2 separate regions of the Homo sapiens genome follow, and region 2 is linked to region 1. The links are contacts of gene promoters, found by promoter capture Hi-C in blood cells and fetal thymus (Javierre and others, 2016). All regions are on one chromosome and are shown on one strand. The core of a region is centred on a gene start or on the middle of the fragment in contact, and the rest is flanking DNA. Distances in the headings are between cores, read along the strand shown. Region 1 holds the start of ELOVL4 (ELOVL fatty acid elongase 4). Region 2 has its middle 110 kb from the start of TENT5A.

Region 1 (3,771 bases), core at 734-3,233:
GCTCTGGCTATATGGAGACTGGAGTATCTCAACAGTGTCTGACTCCTAGGTGTGCGAAGTGCAATTACCTGCTAAAGAACTTGTCTGATGTTCAGCTCTATACAATTGTGTAATGGGAAGCCCTGATGCAACGTTTAAAGAACCGAAATCACAGACGTGAAGGGAAGGGCACATCTTTCCCAGTTTTTGCAGGTACAGTGTAACATCAGTGTAATAGCGCATAGAAACAAAAAAAAAAACTGAAGAAACACTCCATTGAAAACTGCCTTTTAACCATTTTCAGCTGTAATGGCTTATTAAATAGCTTATTTCCCAGTGTCAAAGTTGAGATCTTCTGAAAAAGAACATACTTTTCTAAAGAAGTGAATGCAGTATTAATGCCAAATAATCATTTTGTCTCTCACAAAAATAATTCCAGCATACGTTTTTCCCAAAACATAAGCCCTATGTATCGGACTACATTCATGCTGTAACCACTGTCTAATTTCCTCTAACAACAATGAACACAAAAACTACAGGAGTACATTTTCATTTCGAAGTAGGGAAGGCAGAGTCATAAGATGGAACGTTAATATCCTTCACTGATAGGATGCAGTGTGATACTGCAAAAGGACCAGAAAAATTGACCTCGTAAAATCATTTCTGAAATCCTTTAAACCTTATTTTAGATTTCAAAGACTTTTAAATGCTTTAAAATCAAAAGCAGCGAAGCAAATGAAGAAATAAACAGTACAATGTAAAAATATAATATCACAGTTGGACGCTAGGAAAGCTGCATAAATCAAACAATTGACAGCCCTGCCAAATTAACTGCAACAGCTAAAGAAAAGTTTGCTGATTTAAGAACTGTATATATGTAGGCATCTGGGACAACCTCTAGGTGTTGCTGTAGAGACCCCCTTCCTAAAGACTGATTTCTTCCCCGGTGTTTTGGCCTCCCCCTCCCCCTGACTGCACTGCAGTGCGCAAAGCCATTATAGACAATCACTTCAAACATATTTGCTGTTGAAAATGCCTCGGAAACTAACATTCTTCAAGGTTCAAGGAGCCAAACAATATTATTTTACTTTTCAGTCCGAATTATACTATAGATGAAGGAGCTAGATAGAAGAAAAGATTAGCAGGGTTCTGTCAAAGCGACCAGGAGGCTGAAGAAACCTCCTGTACCTTCAGCTGCCCCTGAAGCCCTCCTTCCTCCCCAGCCCGCTCTCCATACAAAATAGGACTAAATGTTAAAAGGAATCCTGTGCACGGGGAAGAGGGAGGCGAGCTCGGGAGATGTGGGAGCACAGGGTGGGGCGGCTCCTGCGAGGAGCTCCTGGCTGCACAGGCTCCATCTGATATGTCAGCTCCCGCATCCGAGAGCTGATGAGAGATGGAGGGAGCTCAGAAGAAAACCCTGCGAGTGTCGGGGGAGGGGAGGCCTTAACATTCGGATCAGATTAACCAGTGCTCAACCGCAGTGCCCGCGCCGGCCCCTCCGCTGATCCGCAGCATCCGAAAGCCGCAGGGCGCGGGGGCCTGTGGGGCCGGGCCCGGGAGCTGCGAGACCAGGGGCCGGTGACCCCCCGCGGGGGACCGAGCGAGGATGGGGAAGTCAGCGGCTTTACCTGCGATGGACCAGGTCCAGCGGTAGAACTCTACCGTGTCGTTGAGTGCCGTGGACACTACGTTTAGGACACTACCCGGCTCCGAGTCCAGGAGCCCCATCGCGGCGATGAGCGGGCGCTGGCGGCAGGAGAAAGCGGAGACCCAGAGAGAGGGCTGACCCCGGAGGCGGTGGCGGCCGACGGGGCGAGCGGCGGCCGGGAACCCCTCTAACGGCGGCGGCCCGGCTGCGTCTTCTCCTGCTCCTCAAGGCGCCGCGGCGGCGGGGATGCGGCAGAAGGCAGGGCCAAGCGGAAGGCGTCGTCAAGGTTCCCGGGAGAAAGACGAGGAGGTGGAGGAGGCCCAGCCGCCAGCACAGTGCGCTGCACCAGTCTGCAGCCTCGCGCAGCCGCCCCTCCAATCTCCTCAGCCGGCGTCACGTGGCCGCGCGCGGGGGCGGGGGGCCGGCCGCCCCTCCTCCCTCCCTCCCTCCCTAGTATTGGGACTCGCTGGCGTAGGGATGCTGCGCTCAAGGGTGCGACGCCAACTGGGCTCGCGCAGGCGCGCGCCGTCGAGCGGGAGCGGGACACCTGGGCTCCTCCTTGGCCCCTCCCCGCACAAGTCGCCTCATTAGCCTTCCCCGCCCCTGTCCCGGGCATCGGCCCCTGCGGAGGAGTTCACCGCCTCCCCACGGGTGATTTCTTATCCGCCCCGGATACGTCCTGGGAAACAGGACACGGGAAGAATGGGTGTTCTGTGGGCAAAGATGAGGTAGGCGTGGTGCTTTGGTCCTTACCTGACACTCACCTCGATTTCACTTGTGTTCCTGTTTCTTTGACCTCCACCAGCACATGCCTGTCACCATGACAAGAGAAGTGCATGTGTTATGCCTCTGAAGAAGTGAAGGGTATTTGTCTTCCATGCTTCAGCGATGGAGAATAGACTTTGGGGTCGACCCATGAACAAATCAACATATAATTGCATGAATGCTTGCATGTGTTTTGTAGACTCTTTTACTATACATGGAATGAACAAAGCAATATAATTGTGCTAAATTAGGCCATTAGTAGTTCAGAGAAGAGGGAGAACCGAGAGGGGCTTACAGGTGAAGTCCGCTTGAACCTGAAGAAGTTGAGGTGAATCTGAAAAAGATAATCGCTCAAGAGGCAAAGGGCAATTTAGTGTAGAGAGGAAAACAAAGTAATTGTGGCTATTTTGAAAAATTGTTTAGATAAGGTATAGGAGAGCCTACCCTTGAAAAGTAAAAAAAATACAGTACTTGGAATTCATAATTTGATGGTTTCTCACATAAAACAAGATTTTTGAGAATAGTCCTTTCATCTACTTGTTTTTTAAATGTGTCACCTACTTGTTTAACCTTTTCTCCACTTGCTCATTTTGGATGCTACATTTTAAAGACCAGTGAGTCAAGTGTCTTATTGTTCCTGCCCTTTCACACTGTTAATGTGAATACTATCTTTTATCATACTGAAATGATCTATTTCCCAATTGACCTGGTTATATATTGTCTATATTTTATATTGGAAGCATCCTAGATGGTAAGAATTATTTTTGGTTGCTTGATGAGTACCTAACCCAGTGCTATAAACAGTAATTAATAAATATTTATGATGACAAAAATATAACATGTCTTTCAGAGAATAATAAGGATTATTGTGAGTGGCAGGAACTTTATTGCCGAACTAAAGCAAACACAGACTTCTTTAAATGCCCTATTCTTGAAATTAACCAAATAAAATGTTAATTTATTAATTTGTCAAATATATTTGCAAATCTAAAGTTTTCTGGATTGGAATGACAATTTCTCAAGTCTCAATCCTAAATTATGTGTAACAGATTCTAGTAGCTATATAAAAAAAAGAAATCCAGTCAAGTCTCTTCATTTAGGGAGTGGATAAATACCCATTCATTTACAGTGATGATCTAACAAAGTTCGGATTAGTTCGAGCTTCACCTAAAAATTTGATTACTATTTCTATATTGTGGAATCCTGGAGTTTTTAGGGAGAACAGATCTCTACCCATACTTCCATTCACACACGCAAAACTGCAGCATAATACTTAATACAAGGAGAAATTGTTAAAACAGCTTCAGGTATTTCCCTGGTATTTCTTCTACCGTGGAGGTCAACTTAAGTCCCTATTCACTAGGGGGTGCCAGTCA
Region 2 (3,771 bases), core at 815-3,314, 1.7 Mb after region 1:
ATAGTATCAGAGCATTCAGAATGTGAGTTGTAAGAGTTTGTATTTTCCGCTCTGGTCAAGAAATACCTATAGAGTTGTGTTCAGCCAGGACTCCATTATTTGAGAACTTTCATAAACTGCAGCTAATTCGAAGAGAATGGTAAGGAAGCCTGGTACTATCACACATGAGGAATGACAAAAAGAACAAGGAGTGTTTGCCCTGTAAAAGAGCTATTACAAGGGGATGACGTAATAGACCGTGACATTCCTAAGGACATGGTTTGGTATTTTTGACCTTTGAGTCCTCAGCGCCTACATATGGTTGTTACTCAATAAAGGTCTGTTGAATAAATGAATAAATAATTGAATGGCCAGCTGTCAGACGGAATAGAAATTCTATTTGTTCTTTGTGTCCCTAAAGGGCAGAGGGTGATGGGAGTTACAGAGATAGAGGTATAGATGGCAACTCAACATAAAGAAGATTTTAACATGTGCAACCTCCCAGCAATGAATGGAACTTCTGCCAGAGATGATCAAGTTTCAACTCACATGCTAGGGTGAACAGCTCATGCTTGACAAGGAATGACTTAAGCATCCCTTGAACTCTGTGACTATTCAGCTTCATCAAAATTGTTGAATTTTTAGCATGATATAGGTCTCTTATAATGACTTGCAATAACTTTGTTAATATTACTTGTAAATATAGTAACAGATTGCCCTAAAAAATTAGCTGCTTAAACAATGCTCATGTTGCATTTTGAGGTGTTTCATGAGTCACAAATTGGTGAGAGGAGACCACACATAGGTAAACACACAGGCAACCCCTACCTCCCACCATGTGTACACATTAGATGAAGTTTCCAATTTATTTAATTGAAGACATGAAGGCTTGTCAGAGTCAGGTGGCTCCACCTGCAAAGGCAGATGTTGCAAATCTCTACACACTTTCCTTTGCCCCTATTGCTTCTGAAGGGGGCAAGCAATTGTTATTTATATTTTCTATCAGAATACTGTCATATCTTTCCCTGTTATATTTGCACTTACACCACCATCTTGGAAGAACTTTTGCATTAACAGTTATATTATTTTGTTTACAACATCAACTCCCACATCCAATTCTTGAACTAAATTCGGCATCAGAAAGGCATAACTTGGGGAGAAAGTAAGATCACTGCACAATGTGTCTGAATAATACCTTTACCTAGGCTTTCCACAATTCTCAAAAACCTATTATTTCATACAATTATAAAAGTAACTTAATTCACATGATTTTCCTAAGGAATTAAATCTTCTTCTTTGAATATTATGTTGTCTAGTAATTTCTTAATTCAACCATTCTTTTTAGTAGCTCCTGGAAAGTATAGACAAAAGAAATCTTAGTGTTCTATATAATTATGATACTAGACAAAGAAATCCTAAGAAAGAAAGAATTTGATAAAGAGCTTTAAAAAGGAAACATAAAAGAAATAGGAAAGAGTTTTGGCTTTAATGACAAAAAAGAAAAAAACCAAAAGGTCTATTTTATAATATCTTGAGGTTTTGACAAAGAGTCTCTGCTTGATGAAAATTTATCAACCTTCTGAATCTTCTCCTAAGTTCATCTGCGCATTTCCTTGTTAAATCTAGTTTTAGCAGAGAGCCTTGCTAAGTCAGTTTAACAAGAAGCTTCACCCTTGATATTTGGCTCCTTATCCTCTGCCTGCCCTGCAGTGATGACTGATCGCCTGGGGTGTCTACAGCGAGAATCTTGTTAGGTTGGTCTAGCCAGAATCCCTCTCACCCCTGATGTTTCCTCTTAGTAATTTTCCATCCACTGACTCCCACCCTGCTCCTTGGCTATAAATTCCCACTTGCTCATGCTGTATTCAGAGTTGAGCTCACTCACTCTCCCAACTGCAAAACTCTACTGCCAAGGTACCTGTACCTATTGCGATGGTCATGAATAAAGTCAGCCTTATGATGTAACACACGTCAGTGAATAACTATTTCTTTAACAGTTAGTACAAACATAAGAGTAATTAAAATCTGCCTAACGACAGCCATCATTCCAAAAATTTTCAGAAGAAAATTCTGACTTTGTTTAAAAAAAAGGTAAAAAGAATAAGTTAGATGACTACCTTCAGACACTCTTAATGGCAATAAGCGACTCTAAAAGAACCCAAGCCCAGTTCTAACACAGAGAAGAAACTAGAGCATTAGAGTATTTATTAAGGAGGTTAGGCAAGAGATTTATGTGTCAGCTGTGGTTTTAGAACTTACAATTTTCTTTTTATGGTATAGAAGTTAATTCATTTATTAAGTATTTATTGAATACCTTCTCTGTGCCAGACACTGTTATGACTTTGCTTTATTCAAACAAAAATAGAAAAATATCCCAGTTCTAAGGAGCTCTTTAAAATGCTATTTTATTATTCCATTCGATTTTAATCCTAGCAATTCCCGCCTTGAGGAATGATTAGACAAACTTGTACCCATTTTGAAAAAAAATTTAAGTTATAAGGAAAAGTAAGCTTTAAACAAAACATGATATTATATTGATTATTGTTATTTTTACACTTCATTCAATAGCTTAAAATTCTAACAAAAATTAAATCTAACTAATCCAACACGATACTTTAGACTAAAAGCCATCATGTCTGCCAAAGTATTTACTCCAAATTCTATACATATTAACACTTCTCTCTCTCTCTCTTTCCTCTCTCTCTCTTTCCTCTCTCTCTCTCTGTGTGTGTGTGTGTGTATATACATACGTGTATATATGGTTTTAAATATACACGTGTATATATAGTTATAAATATACACATATATATGGTTATAAATATACATGTGTATATATATATGTATACTGTAGAAATTATGGCTTTTATAATGAGCAGCAGAATTATCGGTGATGAGAGAGGAAATCCAACCCATCACAGTACAAATGAATCAAGGACATAATAATGAATAATATCCAAAAGGGAAAGCAGTAAAGAACATAATGTCTGGAATGCAAAACTTTTACCACACTTTTATTTGACCTTAAGTAGCGTTCAGTACATAGAGTCAAAATATGTGTCCCAAAGAACATTAGGGCTGCAGAATATAAAAGGATGCCAAGCACAAACATGAAATAAATAAATAAATAAGCTAGTCATGGAGCGATGATTTTCATAGCAATATATAGGCTAATGAAACACTGTTTAATATAAGATTTCTCAAGATCTTTTGTTTTCTAATTAGATAGTATGACTTTCCAGGAAGAGCATATAATTTTTCAGTATTTATGAAATGTGCTTGACCATGGAAACATTTTCATGAAGAATTACTTTGCCAAAGTTTCCAAGAAACAGATTAAGGTGTTGGGAGCCTAAAAGAAATCATGTATACAAAGCATCCATTACGGTGCCTGGCACAGAGCAGACGCTCACTGAAAGGTATTAGTAGCTGTGGGAACAGTCATGGAATTCTTGTTGCTGTTATCACTGCGCAAGGAAAGCCATAGTTTTATGATGGCTGGCTCATACTCTAAACACATGTAAAGTGCTTCTGAAAATAGAAGAGGAGAGACAGAAGGGTTCTAGCAGACATATGTGCCACAACTTGTTAGGCATGCAAATGCATTATCATTGAATTCTTACAACCGTGGTAGAAGGTAGTCTTATTATGTCAGTTTTACAGGTGATGAGACTGAGGTTCACAGTATGCTAACAGTTCCACAGTAAGTAAATGATAGGTCTATCTGAATTCAGAATTAACTAAAGTTACTCTTCTTTGTCAAATAACATTAATTTTTTCAATAGACTCTTGATT

Evidence for each region. Contacts are between HindIII fragments. The CHiCAGO score rates a contact against its expected background, and 5 or more counts as called.
Region 2: a fragment that was not itself captured here is called in contact with the fragment with the promoter of ELOVL4 in region 1 in 1 of 17 cell types (neutrophils); the score reaches 5.4 in neutrophils.

Annotation. Positions count from the first base shown.
Region 1 is chr6:79,945,570-79,949,340 of GRCh38, forward strand. It overlaps ELOVL4 (ELOVL fatty acid elongase 4), which reads right to left and starts at 1,984. Exons shown (of 6, transcript NM_022726.4): 1 at 1,611-1,984. The coding sequence starts at 1,710. LOC124901350 reads right to left here. Exons shown (of 2, transcript XM_047419628.1): 2 at 1,818-2,442. The coding sequence starts at 2,246. The coding sequence ends at 1,818. LOC124901351 (a long non-coding RNA gene) reads left to right here and starts at 2,236. Exons shown (of 3, transcript XR_007059656.1): 1 at 2,236-2,358. RefSeq lists a silencer at 2,044-2,093. The HindIII fragment of the contact is 8,446 bases long and covers 1-3,771 here.
Region 2 is chr6:81,636,848-81,640,618 of GRCh38, forward strand. No RefSeq gene overlaps it. Among named protein-coding and RNA genes, the nearest start is that of TENT5A, 110 kb to the right of the region's middle. The HindIII fragment of the contact is 845 bases long and covers 1,643-2,487 here.